2 separate regions of the Homo sapiens genome follow, and region 1 is linked to region 2. Evidence: promoter capture Hi-C in 16 types of primary human blood cells and fetal thymus (Javierre and others, 2016). All regions are on one chromosome and are shown on one strand. Each heading gives the region's core, a stretch centred on a gene start or on the middle of the fragment in contact. The rest is flanking DNA. Distances are from core to core; before and after follow the strand shown. Region 1 overlaps FGF9 (fibroblast growth factor 9). Region 2 holds the start of SPATA13-AS1 (SPATA13 antisense RNA 1).

The links. The method cuts DNA at HindIII sites, captures the fragments that hold promoters and counts their contacts. A CHiCAGO score of 5 or more calls a contact.
Region 1: a fragment that was not itself captured here is called in contact with the fragment with the promoter of SPATA13-AS1 in region 2 in 3 of 17 cell types (non-activated CD4 T cells, activated CD4 T cells and naive CD8 T cells); the score reaches 6.8 in non-activated CD4 T cells.

Annotation. Positions count from the first base shown.
Region 1 is chr13:21,672,662-21,679,428 of GRCh38, reverse strand. The region is part of intron 1 of FGF9 (fibroblast growth factor 9); the gene reads right to left. Among named protein-coding and RNA genes, the nearest start is that of FGF9, 5.0 kb to the right of the region's middle. RefSeq lists silencers at 3,933-3,982, 5,393-5,522, 5,543-5,762. The HindIII fragment of the contact is 3,279 bases long and covers 3,616-6,767 here.
Region 2 is chr13:24,249,431-24,256,483 of GRCh38, reverse strand. SPATA13-AS1 (SPATA13 antisense RNA 1) reads left to right here and starts at 2,045. Exons shown (of 3, transcript NR_046531.1): 1 at 2,045-2,148; 2 at 3,285-3,405; 3 at 3,528-3,735. SPATA13 (spermatogenesis associated 13) reads right to left here. Exons shown (of 13, transcript NM_001166271.3): 3 at 6,642-7,007; 4 at 4,622-4,766. RefSeq lists an enhancer at 4,622-4,756. The HindIII fragment of the contact is 5,552 bases long and covers 1-5,045 here.

The DNA of each region.
Region 1 (6,767 bases), core at 4,006-6,505, 2.6 Mb after region 2:
GAATTTTTCAACAATTAATTCTGCAACTCTCACAAAATACACTGGTACTGCAATCAAAAGAAGACATGAACAGCATAAATCTAATAAAGGATTAACTCAAGAGGAAACTATTTCAAGGTGATGTAAAAAAGAAGAGCTATTTCTTCTAAAGGGGCATTCCTAATTCTTTTATAAGGACAAAATGTAACAAATTTATCTTGTGCTTAATGTAATTATTTTAATAGGATGTTAAACAGTATATCAAAAAAAGTGAAATTACAAATTGTGTTTTGAATCTGATAATCTATGACTCTATGATGGAGAATACATGCAAAAGAAGCCAGTTTATTACTAGCCTTCCCTACTTCAAAAGCAAATGGGAATATAAATAAGGCAATATTTCCATGAGATTCATTTTTCATGAGATGCACTCCCTTTTTGATGCATTTTATTTCATTGTACTATTCTTCTGAGTCAAAATAACTAAAATTGTGGCATTTTATTATTATTAGCAGTCACATGTATGTGAATATCTTCTTAGTAACCTGAAAGCACACCAAAATGTGGGTCATACATACCCTGAAATTAATGTAATGAGTTAATTAATGTTCAATTTTCGTCGTAAGATGAAATGCAGGAAACATTTGGCCCCTTTTGAGGTCTGAATGATTTAATTTACCAGGTCAATAAGGAAAGGTTTAATCATAAAACTAAAAAATATTTGCAGCTTCTAAGGGAGCATGTGATGATCTTTCTGCTTTCCCTGCACACGGAGTAGCTGAGGACTAATAATGAATATTAGCCAGTGTTGCCCATCAGGTCCAACAAAGAATAAGGTGCATGTGATTTCACAAAACCTTTTCACTGGCTGGTCTGCAGAACATCAAGAAAAAAAAATAACAGCAGCAGCAATGATAATTGTAATAGTAAAAATTCTTGAGCATTTAGTCTATGCCAAATGAGAGGCCGTCTCTCATTTAATCCCCAGAACAACTCTAGGCATTACAATATTCTAATCCCCAGTGTACAAATGGGGAAATTGAGGTTTAAGGAGGTTAATAATTAGCCCCCAAGCAACTGGACTCCAAAACCTATTTCCTTAACTATTATGCACATCTTACATTTGGTTTTACCTTTTTTAATGTTTCTGTGATTTCTGTACCATTTTCATATAGCTGAGTTCTGAAAGTATTACTATATAATTTAGAAATGAAGATATCAAGATATCTATCTCGTTTCTTTTTCTGGCATTGACAAGACAGCTGTAATTCATATTCGTTCACTTTTTCATTCAAGAAGCTATTATTGAGGGTTTATTATAAGCCAAGCACCATACCATTTATTGAGTATATAAAGATGAACCGGATATAGCCTAGGTCCTATTACCCTCAAATTTTTGCTCACCATCTGTTGGGAAGAAGAACACGTAAACAGATAAATATAACAACAGTGTGGCAAATGCAGTTGAGAGGGAGCTGTTCAGGGTATGGGCAGTCCAAAGATGGGCAGCTCATCTGGGTTTCTGAAGGCAAGTCAGAGGCTTCCCAAGAAAATAAATACCTGAGATAAGTCTCCAAAAAGCTATCCAAGCGAGAAGGAACTACCTACAGACCCCAGGTGGAAAAGATTTCATCACCTCAAACCACCACCCATTTCTCCGCAGTTCCTTAAAAATAGAGACGTCAAAATAACAGCCCAGCTTTTTATGTGGTCACCTCAGTGATGCAAGGACAAGCAGACCAACTGAACGTAGGAGTCACAGTCATTCTCCCCCATGCAAAGAATTCCACTGTTGTAAGGTCAGGAAGATCTAGCAACCCCGCAACAGGATCCCACCCCAACCAGACCAGAAACCTCATCATTCCTGGTACCCTCTTGTCCACAATAAATTCTATAACCTCAACCAGGTCCATTCAGCTCTCTCTGGGGTGGAGCTGGTGCCAGGCAAGTGCTTCCAACTACACTCCCTGAGTACAACCCACTCCACATGTTATCTGCTCACATGACTGGGCAGCAGAGGGGGCTGGATCAATAACAGCCAGGAGAAGCCTTCTGTGCAGAGACATCTGAATGTTTAATGATCAAGGAGAGAGAAAGGGAAAGAAGGAAAGAGCAAAGAAAAGAAGGAAGGAAGAGGGGAGGAGGAAGGGAGGGAATGATGAGTTTGTGCCTAAAATTAGAACTGTGGCACACACATGTGTACCATGGCAGCCTGTCGCTCATTTTGGGCAGACACAGCCTTGACATCCTTAGCTCAGACGGCCCACAGTAATGGGTAGTGATAGGGTGACATGGGAAGCACAGGGTCGATGACTGCTGTCATTTCTTTGTTCTCTTCCACAGCAGTCAACAGTTCCAAATGAGGATATGCTCATTGGGACCCCATTGGATTTGATGAGGTGTGAGATCATCCATGGTCCATGAGAGACCAGGTCAATGCCTGGACTATTTCAGGAAAATCACCACACCGGACCTTCCTCATTGCCCCAGACTCACTATTAGTGACTATCCCCAGAGCTGATGGGCTGCCCCAGTTCTGTTCACATGGACCATTATCCCAAAGCTGGCACCGCCCCCTAGAGCCCATCTGTGCTGGGCCTCACCTCCAAGGCCAGGCAAGGCAGTGGGAGAGGAAGGCAGTCAGAGCTGCTCCACTCTGGCCCTCATGACATGGTTCTCTGGCTTAAGAGCCCCCAACGCATTACAGAACCGCACTCTTCAGACCACACAAATGTAGGCAGACTGTCGAGAGGGGCAGGGCATGAGGCTGCAGAAAATTAATGATTAAGCCTCTTCCCTGCAGAGCTTCCTGCTCACCCAGAGAAGCTCGAACCAGGGCTGCCAGATCAACCATCTCAGATCCTGCACCGGGGTAAGTTCGGATCTGTAGCAACCTGAGCACATCTCATAGAGTTTATATAGGAAATGACTAACTGAATGGGAGTTATAACTCCACTAATTTTTCCAGAACCTGAAGCAATCCTAAAACCATCTCCTTAAACACCCAGTGTTTTCCTGAGACATTGAAGAGTCAGATACATAGAACAGAATTAAAGTTCAAAACCCTGGAAATAAGTTTTAAACACCTGTTTAAAAAAATCATACTATCATATTTCTCCCCTCTAGTAAAACCTTCACCTGACCCAATTTGAATGGAAGCCCCAGTTTGGGTGCTCATCTGAGGTCCTGATGAAGACCGGCCTTTCAGAGCTACCTAACCCCAGCCAAAAAGGGAACAGACTTAGGTTTCCTAAACAAGTTAAATAGCAGATCAGGCCCAGCGTTCATGTTTTTATTATTTTACATTACTATTTCCCCAAATGATTTTCTGCTCACATTTCTATCCATCTAGCAAGGCTGGAGTGCTTTAAAAGTGAGCTCTATATATAGGCATATAGATATACAGATGAAACAAGACATCTCGCTCCCCCAGCCTACTGCACAGAGATACAATTGCGAGTTCCTTTTCTCCTTGTTCAATCTTATCTCCACACCACCAATCCGAGGGGGAAAAAAAAAAAAAAAGGCTCCTTCAAGGTCCCACCTAAGTTGTCACCTCTGCAGCTCCTGCTGGAACAGTAAGACTCCCCCACCCCCACGTCCTCTGCACTGCTGCTGCTGTGTCACTGCCAAGCTTGCCAGCAGCTGCAGTCACCTGCGGCTGCATGGGGGCGGCAAAAATCCTTTTTCCAGCGCGTTTCCTTCTGCTGTTTGATTTCAGGTAGAAAATGCACCTTCTATTTTAATCAAGGTGTAAACCCACCGCACCCCCCACCTACAGTTACTCTTTTCTAGAGAAACTGAGTGTGAGGACGAACTCCCCAGAGGGGAGCCGGGCTGCGGAGGAGAGGCTGCTGCCGGAGGAGGAGGAGGGCCGAAGGTGAGGCCGCGGCGGCGCGCGGGAGCGCCAGGTGTGCCAGAGCCGGGGCACCGCAGCCCCCTCGCCCCCTCCCGGCGCCTGTGCCCTCCCTCCGCCCTCCCCGCGCGAGCCGCGGTGTCCTAGCGCCGCCGCGGCCTCGTTCCGGGCGGGGCTGGGAAGGCGAGGGTAGGAGGCTCCCGGCACACGCACCACCGCTCTGCGGAGGTTGCTAATATTGGGACCTGCCGCAGCGGCAGCAGCGGGAGACCGCGGCACTGCTGTCACCCCGGGGGCCCGCTTCTCACTGCAACCGGATGAAAGACTTAAATAACCCTCCTGCCTCACCCTGCTTCCCCACCCCCACTGCGCACAGCCACCCACTCAACTCCATCCCAGCCAGAGTGAGTGGCACAGCGGAGCGCCAGAGCGCCCTTCCCCCTCGGCCGACGCCAGGCCGACGGGCTAGCTAGCGGCTCGGCGCCCCCAGTCCCCAACCTGGGCCGGGGCTTCCGCTCCCCTCCCATCCAACACTACCCCTAGCCCCTCCCCCCAGCCCCCACATCCCCCCCAGCCCCCACATCCCCCGCAACACTGTACCGAGAGCGTCTAAGGAGTGGAGATGCCACTTCCCTGACAACACCTTTCTCTGACCTCTAGGGGTGAGGGGTCTAGCTTTTTGTTTAACGGTTTCTATTGAGCCACTGTAGCCCGCCGCTGTCCTCATCCGCTCACCCTAGAATGCGCCTCTCCTGCCCTCCCCTCCCGCGTGGCCCCCGCCCTTGCATCCGCGCTCTCTCCAGTGGCAGAGTTACGGGATTTCTAATGACTCGACTGCATGTGGCAAACGTCCTATCCTAAAGGTGACTGCATCAAAAAAAAAAAATGCTCATGGAGGGAAGGGGTGCGTGAAGAAGCGCCAACTAGAATATCCCATAATCTCTGCACACCAGGGCCCAGTCGTGCTGCACCGGAGTTCTAATAGGGTCTCTCAAAGACAGGCTCGGCTGATCCACACAATAAAACCGGCTCGGGCCCGCCGCGGCGCCCCTGCAGCCGTGCGCCCCCGCCGCGCTCCCGCGCACACCCCGGGCTCCCCCGGTTGTGAAGCCGGAGCGGAGGCGGGGGCGCGGGAAAGCCAGATCGCGATCGGCGAGCTCGCGAGCTCTGCTCTCGGAAAGCGGTTAACAATAGCACGCCGCCCCCTCCGCCCGCCTCCGCGGCCCTTTGTCCCCCCCACCCCCACTCCTTTCCCTGCGGCTCCGGCCAGGGGCCCCCGACCCACCTCCCGGGCACCACGGAGCCCTTCGAGTCTCCAAAACCCGGCTGCGTGCTTCAGAAGAAGGACACGGAATGGGACAGGGGAGCTCAGGGGTCCGACCTCCAGCCCGTCCTCTGTCCCCGCCACCAACTCTCCTGCCGCTGCGCGCGCCTCCAGCCGTTCCCACACCGCAAACCACCGTGCAGCCCAGGGCGGCGGCTGTCAGCCCCGCCAGACCCACTCTCACACACAAAGAGAAAGCGAAGGGGCTCAACTTGGGCCAAAATGAAAAACCGGATTCCCTAAACGCGGCCAGAAGTGTGTCAGCCCCTGCCTGCCGCCCCCCGGCCCCCGTGGTCCCCGCAGCACTGAAGGGCGCACCCGAGCCAGGCGGAAAGGGAGCCGGAACGCGAGCGCGTTTAGGACCGCGCGGAGCCGGCCGGGCAGCCGCTAAGTGCGCCGCGGGGCCCGGGCGGCCGAGCGGGCACCTGCCGACCGCGAGCGCGGGAGGGCTGGAGCTCCGGCCGCCTGGCACACCTAGGCCGGCCGCCCACGCCGCTCGCTTCGGTCGGCGCGGCCCCGACACCCTGCGGGTGGCCGCCGCGGCCCCGGACACGCTCGCTCGCCCACCCAGGGCCGCCCACTGCCTGTTGTTCTGGTATCGAACGCTAGGCAGGGTGGCAGCCCTTAAAGAGGCCAGATGGAAACGGCACTTTTAGTAAAGTTTAGTCTTCTCTTTGCAACAACCAGAATCTACCTTTACTTCTGGGGTGGGGAGGGGATAGTTATATTTCAACTGAATAATTGCAAAGCAAAGAGCTATAACTTTTTTTTAAGCAGCGAGTGGAGACGGCCGGAGCAATTTCACACTACTAGGCTCAGCTGTGGGCTTAGGCTCAGGGGTGAGCATGAGGAGCAAATCCTGGGCCTCGTGGATCTGGGACCATCCCCAGCCCAGGCCTAAGTCCTCCTCACCTTCTGGCATCATCCGCAGCCGCACGAAGCTAAACATACAGTTTAGATTGTGTTCAACATCTGGCACTAAAGCATGAGGAAGAAAAATCACCAGAGGACTTTGTTTTTTACGACCTAGTTTAAGTGTTGTCAGGTGGGTTCACTCAGAAGTTAACTCCTTCCAACAGTCTAGTTGCCCAAACTGGCGCTTATTTTTTTTTTTTTAAGTAAGGAAAAAACTCAAGAGTCCACCCAATTGGGACTGTGTTAGTTGACTTCGTGCCGTTGGGCTCAGGGTGCCCCGGCAAGCACGTGTGTGCAAGCATAAAGTGGGCAGAGCCACCAGCCCTCGAGTCTGCAGCCCTCAGTGCTGAGTCACAAATACCCTCCGCTGAAAAATGAAATCCTCGGAATGCCCTTTAAAATTCGCTCGCAGCGTTTGCACGCGCGCACACACTCACACCAGAGAGCCACGCAGGAGACCTACACAGGGCTGCACACTATGGAAATTTAAAAGCAGAGGTTATCACTTGATAGCTGGAAGGACAAAAACCCCTGAGCGCCCTGCCTCTTCCCAAGTCATTTTCCCCCAAGCCTCTGCCCCTGCTTTTCACGGAGCCTAAAATATGACTTTAGTCCTCCCAACAGGACAATCCGTCAGCAACCTTCGCCTATGGGGCTTTCAGACCCTCACAGGGGAGAATAAACAATGCACTT
Region 2 (7,053 bases), core at 796-3,295:
TTATTTTAAACTCACATAATAATTGTACAATATTTATGGGGTACAGTGTGATATTTCAATATATGTATACAATGTGGAATGAGCAAATCAGGGTAATTAGCATATCATCACCCCAAGCACTTATCATTTATTTGTATTAAGAACATTTGAATCCTCTCTTCTAGCTATTTTGAACTATACAATACATTGTCATTAACTGTGGCACAGTAGGACTTATTCTTCCTGTCTAGCTCTATTTTTATATCCATTTACCAACCTTTGGTTATCAAGATTTTGAGAATACTTGACCAGGGAGGAGAAATATACTTTCATTATTATTTAAAAGTTGATACTACAGAAAATTTCAAATACACACAAAAGCAGATAATACCATGAACCCACGATTATCAGTCTTTTGCCAATATTGTTTCAACTATTTCCCACCAACTTTTTTGGAGTATTTTAAAACAAATCTCACATATCATATTTTATGCAGAAAGTATTTCACTATCTGTGTATAACAAACAAGGACTTAAAAATAACTGCACTATCTTATCCCAACTAACAAAATTAAAAATAATTCCTTCATGTTGCCAAATATTCAGTTCATCTGAAAATCTCCCCAACGTGTCTCAAAATGATGCTTTTACAGCTGGTTTGCTGAGCTCAATTTGTGGGCTTACTGAGCTGGATGCCATTCTAGCACTTCGTTGGTATATAAACCTAAAACCCTCAGTGCATAGAAAGGAAGGAGTTCCAGGACTGGGATGGAAATGCTAGAGATGGTCTATCATGTGAGTCTCACCACCCCTTGGGCTGCATCTCCCATGTGACAGCAGCTTTTATAATTAATGTACTGCTAATCTCTCTAGGCCAGAGATGCTGCTGAGAGATGGTTCCACTGCAATGCAAACCTGGTCCTCCATGGGGGTGGGACATCTGTCATGGGAAAAAGGTGGGCATAGTTACTATACCACACAGCAGGGCCAGCTTGGTCATCTGAATGGTTTGACCTGTGAAATCTCTGGTTGTGCTGTTAACTGATCTCGGGGTCCCCAGGAACAAAACAGATGAGTGATTCCACAAAGGTACCACAACATTGTGTAGGAGGAACTCTCCAGGGCTGGCAAGCAGAGCCCGACCTGAGCCACCATGACAGAGAAGACAAGGGAGGGCCCTCACTCAACTCCCAGACTCAGGCCTCTTGATGGAGCAGAGCCAGGGAGCCTCAGGGTAGGCATCCTACTACAAGTCTTCTTCCTAGCTTCTCAAAGAGAACTCCTACCATCAGCCTGGTGACTGTGTCCTCAGGACAGGGAAACTCCCGGCGGCAAATGTAAGCAATACTCTTCCCAAGCCTTTCTGAGTAGGAGAGATGGCTTTGGCAAGGCAAGGATTTAGCTCGTGCGCACTCCTGGTTAGGAGCTAATGGCCTGGCTGAATGGCCTGGAGGAATGTGGAAAGAACAAGATGGGCTGAGGATGGGTTTGGGGAAGGAGTATAACTGGCTACCTCAGAATACCCGCAGAGCATGAGATGATGTCCATCCTACATGAATCCTTATTGCAAGAGAGGCTAATCAATCATCATGTGGACATGCTGTCCCAATGTGCAGCTAGATGCCAGTCTTCCTTCCTAGTCATCTTGATACTTGCTCAGTGGGTTCATAAAAAGGAAAAAAAAAAAGAAGCAAGCAAGAAAAAGGCCATGGTGGCAAAAATGGATGCCAAGCCTGGGCTAAACCACAGGAAGTCTGGGCCTTCCCCTCAACAAAGCTGATGATACGGTTCCCCGCAGGAACCAGACAGCCCCTTGCGGAAAGCTGATTGCAGTGGGGCCTTTTCATAATAGAGGGGGTGGTGATTTGTCCCTACTGGAAGGGCCACTTATGCTGGGCTTGGATTTGTTTTCCTGCACTCTGTGGATCCTCTAGAAGGCCCCTATCCTGTCGCAGCATCTCACACGCCATCCAGGCCCAGAACGTCACAGAGAAGGAAGCACATGACCCCATCACACCCAATAACAACCAAATAAAAATGAAGTTACAGAGGCAGCTGGGAGACACACCCAGAAGTTGCCATACTGCCCTGGATGGGACGCAAGCTCTGAAGCAGTGACTAATTTGGAGAGGCTGGCCCACAGCAGAAGATGCAGGGCCGGAAACCAAGGGTAAACATAGAAGCGGCTTCTTAGGATTACTTAATAATATACTTGCAAAATGTTTTCTTCCCACCTAGGAACTCTGCTCTGTTGAAACTGAATTTAGTGCCCAAGGGAGAAGTACTTCCTCCAGAGTTCACAGTCCTGGCCACAGTGAATCAGAACCAAGGCTGGCCATTTTTGCCTCTTCGTACCACTGGGAAAATGAGCACCCACGGAAAATGGGGATGGCTTTTGTGGTCACTGCTACCATATTTCTCAAATGGACTAATGCAATCGCCTTCAAATCAATCTCCATTCCTCTTCCTTTCCCCCCACAAACTGCCCTCCCTCTCTAAGCATAAACCGGAACATAATATGCTCCTGCTGCCAATGGCTTCACACCACACTTAGAACAAGCTCAGCCTCCTCATGACCTGCAGAGCCCTTTCCAGCCTCAGCCCACCTCCCAGCCTGCAACATCCTCGTCTGCCTCTTGCTCCCTGAGCTCCTGTCACTGTGGCCTCCTTGCTGAACCTCAGACACATCATGTTTCCTGCCTGTCTTTGGGCTTCTGGTGCTCCTTCGGCTAGGACTTCTCCTCCCTCGGATCTCTGCCTCACTGCCTCCTACTCACCTGTCCCCAGCGTCACCTCCTTGGAGAGGAGGCTATCTCCCCCACCTGCTCCTACTCCTCACATTACCCAAAGTCATCTTCTGCAGGGCCGTCACTGGTGCCTTGGTGCATCCTACATATTGACTTATGGAATCTGTTCAAATGCTGAAATGTAAACTTTGCATGACGTTTTATTCTCCACAGCATCCCAAATTCTCTATTTCCTTCCTTTCCCTGCCTTGCCATTCTGGTAGGGATGTGTTGCTTAAATCTGCCTCTAGTTAATCAACGCTGAAGAGGCACTGCATGGAACTGGAGGACTAGTTATCCTAAGAGGTCCTAGACTTGGAGGTGTCTGCTGCCACTGATGAGGATCTGGGTGTCTCCTTCTAGGGAAGAGAGAGAGGGTTCATGGAACAGGTGCATCCTGTTCATTAGAGTGTCATTAGAATAACACTCTTTGGAAATGAATGCTCTCTATCCTGTTTTATTTTTCTTTATAGTACTGTCTGCTCTGTTAAATACTTACTTGGCCTGTCTTCACATATAGAAGGCAAGGGTCCCTGGAGACAGACACCCCACCCTTCTTCCTGTTCCAGTACCACCAGGTGGTGGACATATCACCTAAGCTCGGACAGCTGAATCTTCCATCCTGGGACCTGAACCCCTGGGTGAGTGACAGAAAGACAGTCACTAACTCCTAATAAGTTAACTCCTTATTATAACTCCTCCCCAAATAAGTATACACTTCTTCAAGATAGGGTCTTTAATTAAATGTTTTGTATTTTCAAAGCGCTCACTGGATACCCAGATAAAGTGCTCACTGGATACCTCACTAGCTCCTGGGACAGTGCCATGGCCAGTCTCCCATCACACACCTTCCGGTGGCTCCTCCACTCCCAGGAGTGAGCCTGGATGCCATCCCTTCCCTAGCCTGGTTCCCCAGCCATCCCATCAATTCTGGGCACACCTGGCCCCCTTCCAATAAATTCCCTTTTTGCTTAAGACAGCCAGAGTTAGGTTTTGTTGCTTTTCGACAAAAGAACGCTAAAATTAAAACATTTTTAACATAACAACAAAAACCAGTGTTACAGAAAGCAGGGAAAGGCTGTGTGTACACAGGTACGGGGTGGGAGGAGAAGTGCTCTACATTCCTACCACCCTAACAATGCTACTGTTATTTCTGCCTGTTCTTTCAAAATCTTCTGCCATATGGGTACACGTTGCATATTGTTACAAACATGGTATACGTTTTTGATTGAATTGTGTCCCCCCAAAAGATGGTGAAGTCCTAACCCCCAGTACCCATGAGTGTGACCTTATTTGGAAATAGTCTTAGGTAGATAATCACATTAAGATGAGGTCACTAAGTTGGGCCCACATGCAGTAAGCCTGGTGTCTTTATAAAAAGGGGAAATCTGAACACAGACAGACACAGGGGAGAATGCCATGTGAACATGAAGGCAGAGATGAGGCAATGCTCCTACAGGCCAAGGAACACTGAGGGCACCAGACGCAAGGAAAGCAGCCTGGAGCAGACCCTCCCTCACAGCCCTCAGAAGAAACTGACCCTGCTGACGTGTTGATCTCGGATTTCTAGCCTGGGTCTCGGTTCTTTAGGGATCTCCACATGCAGGAATGTATGTACACGGACACCACAGGAGGGGCAAACTTCTCAAACTTAGAGCCACCAGCCTGGCACACAGAGCATCTACCCCAGACAGCAAATGATGCACCATTCTCCTGAGATGAGCCGTCCTCACTCCCAGACAAACGCGCCCTGGCCCAAGGGAGGCGCGAAGGTGCAGAACCTGCTGCCTCAGGTTAGCTGGAAACGGTCAGATGGGCCCATAGCAGCTCTGAAAGGAAAGGGACTCTGAGACTCACCGTTGGATGCTCTCATCTGCCGCCGGCGTCCCACACGGTCCAACCCAATGGGGGTGCTCTGGGAGAATGTGAAGGGCCGGAACCGGGCCGACACAGCCTTGTAGGGTGGCACCTGGTGAGCAGGCATGGGCGGCCTGGAAGCCGGCTGCAAAAAGAAAGCAAAATCTGTGAGGAGGTACCAGGAAGTGGCAGCTCTTGCAAGCACCTCACACGCATAGCGCTCTCACCTCGAAGCCACTCACAGACGTGAAATGGTTTCTCCAATCCTGCCACGAGTTGCAGGCTGCACCGAAGCCCAGTGGCAACTCATGATGCTACAGTTTTTAACAATCCTGATCAGCTTACTGGCCCGCACCCTGCAGCCTCATGTTTCATCTCACTTGTCTGCAACATGCCAATAGGTCACACTAAGGAAAAAGAAGCTTCTGAGAAGATGAAGGCACATTTAGGAAGCAGTGGAGTTGTCACACAGATGCAGGGTCACAAGGGTAAGAAGATGCTTTCCCAGGGGTGGCCTCTGGAGGAAGCCAGGACAAGGCCACAAACCCGGCCAGGGTGGCCATCTGTGATCCTCACATCCTTCTTCAGCCTCATTTACTCCTCCCCACCGACACAGAGCCTGGCATAGATGAGCCCTCAGTAAGGATTTGTGGAGCTGAAGGCAAGCCTTGCTTACCCAAACTCACACGGCAGTGGAGCTTTAGTTGAAAGAAGTGGTTTTCCATGTAGTTGCCCAGGTCTCTCTTATAATGCCCTTCTGGTTTTCTATAATAGCGATCCCTAAAACTATTAATCAAAGGCCCAGTTGCTTTATACGTTCCTTAGATTTCTTTTTTTCTTCTTTTGTTTATTACATGCATATCCTGCTTATGTAATTCCTTAGGTTTTCTTACAATTTTCCCACTCAATTCCCTACATTAGGTTATAGTACAGAAAATTACTTCGCACATTCCTTTTGGCTGCTCTGAAGTGAAACCCTTTCTAAGGCTGTGGAGCATCCTGGACTATTGTTCTGAGTTAAAATGCGTGACAATTTGCTTCAGTACAGAATCATTTCCCAACAGCGGAGCACCTTCAGACAAAAGGTTCTTAACATTTTCATGATATTCTGCAACTTAATTTTTTAACCTTAAGAAATCAATTCAATTTATTTAAGCAAGAGTTTTTGAGTGCTTGTTATAGACAAGGCATTGTGTGGGGCTTTACAGGAAAAATGTAGACGTATACAATCCAGTACTAGTACTCCATAGGAGTTCCCTTTTAAGATAATTTTATGGGTTACTTACGACATCAGCTACCAGGTTTTAAAAATGAAAGTGGGCATATATATTACTCATATATTGTTCTGTGAATGTTTACCATGGCCAAGGTATTAGCCTCCACAAATAAGTATACACTTCTCCAAGATAGGGTCTTTAATTAAATGTTTTGTATTTTCAAAGTGCTCACTGGATACCCGGATAAATATTTGTTGAATTACTAAACTATACTAAGAAACCAGTACTAAGTGTTTAATCCATTGTCAAACTATTAATAGTTGCAAAGTTGCAACTCAAAAAAAAAATAAGAAAATGGTGGAAAACAAAATACTTTCTCATCTCCTAAAAAACTATTTCTTCTTTACATTTTATTTATTTCTTCTTTACATTTTATCTTTACATTTTAACAATGAACAATACTGTCTTTTTCAACAATTACTTCTTTCAGGAGTCTTACTAAATATGCCCTGCTACCTTTCCCTGGTTAGAATCTCAGGTTATTCAGAAACAAACAGCAAATGAGTCTCATGTATTATTTGAGATCCCAGGAAAGAAAGATTAGCAAAAGGCATCCAAACGTCAGGTGGTTAGTTTGAATTCATGCATGTTTTCACACAGTCAGGAAGAAAAGGTGGTTAAGTACATGGTGCCGCCCTTGAGAACGGGAGAGAAAAAGCAGATCCAGTTTAGTGTGCAGACAGAATAGAGGCAGGAAGCTGGAGGGCCTCTGCTGGCTTGGGGAAGTGCACACCAGATCTTACTTGGGTCAGAAGATTGTCCAGTTCCTCCGTCTGGTTGGTCCCATACAAGCTGACCCCACCTATCACGGAAATGGGGCGCCTTCTCCGGGCTCCTTTGGGGCAGCCCACTGGAGCATTCTGGTCTTCAGGGCTGGCAGAAGTCATGCTTGCCTGGGGGTCCTCGTCCACACGGTCTTCCTTCTGGGGGTCTGCAGCAACCGAGTCTTCAGGAATAGACAAACTGCGGCTGGCCAGCTGGCCGTAGTCAGAGAATGGCCGAGGCCTTGGCCGTCTCCCAGAGCCCCATCTCCTCTTGGGGGTTCTCTGTGCCTCTGTCCTTTCCTCATCCTGTGATGAGCTTCGCCTCCAGGGGCCATCAGGGACGACCTTTCAAATGCGAACAGGTCAGGTGAGCTCAATATCCAGGAAGGTA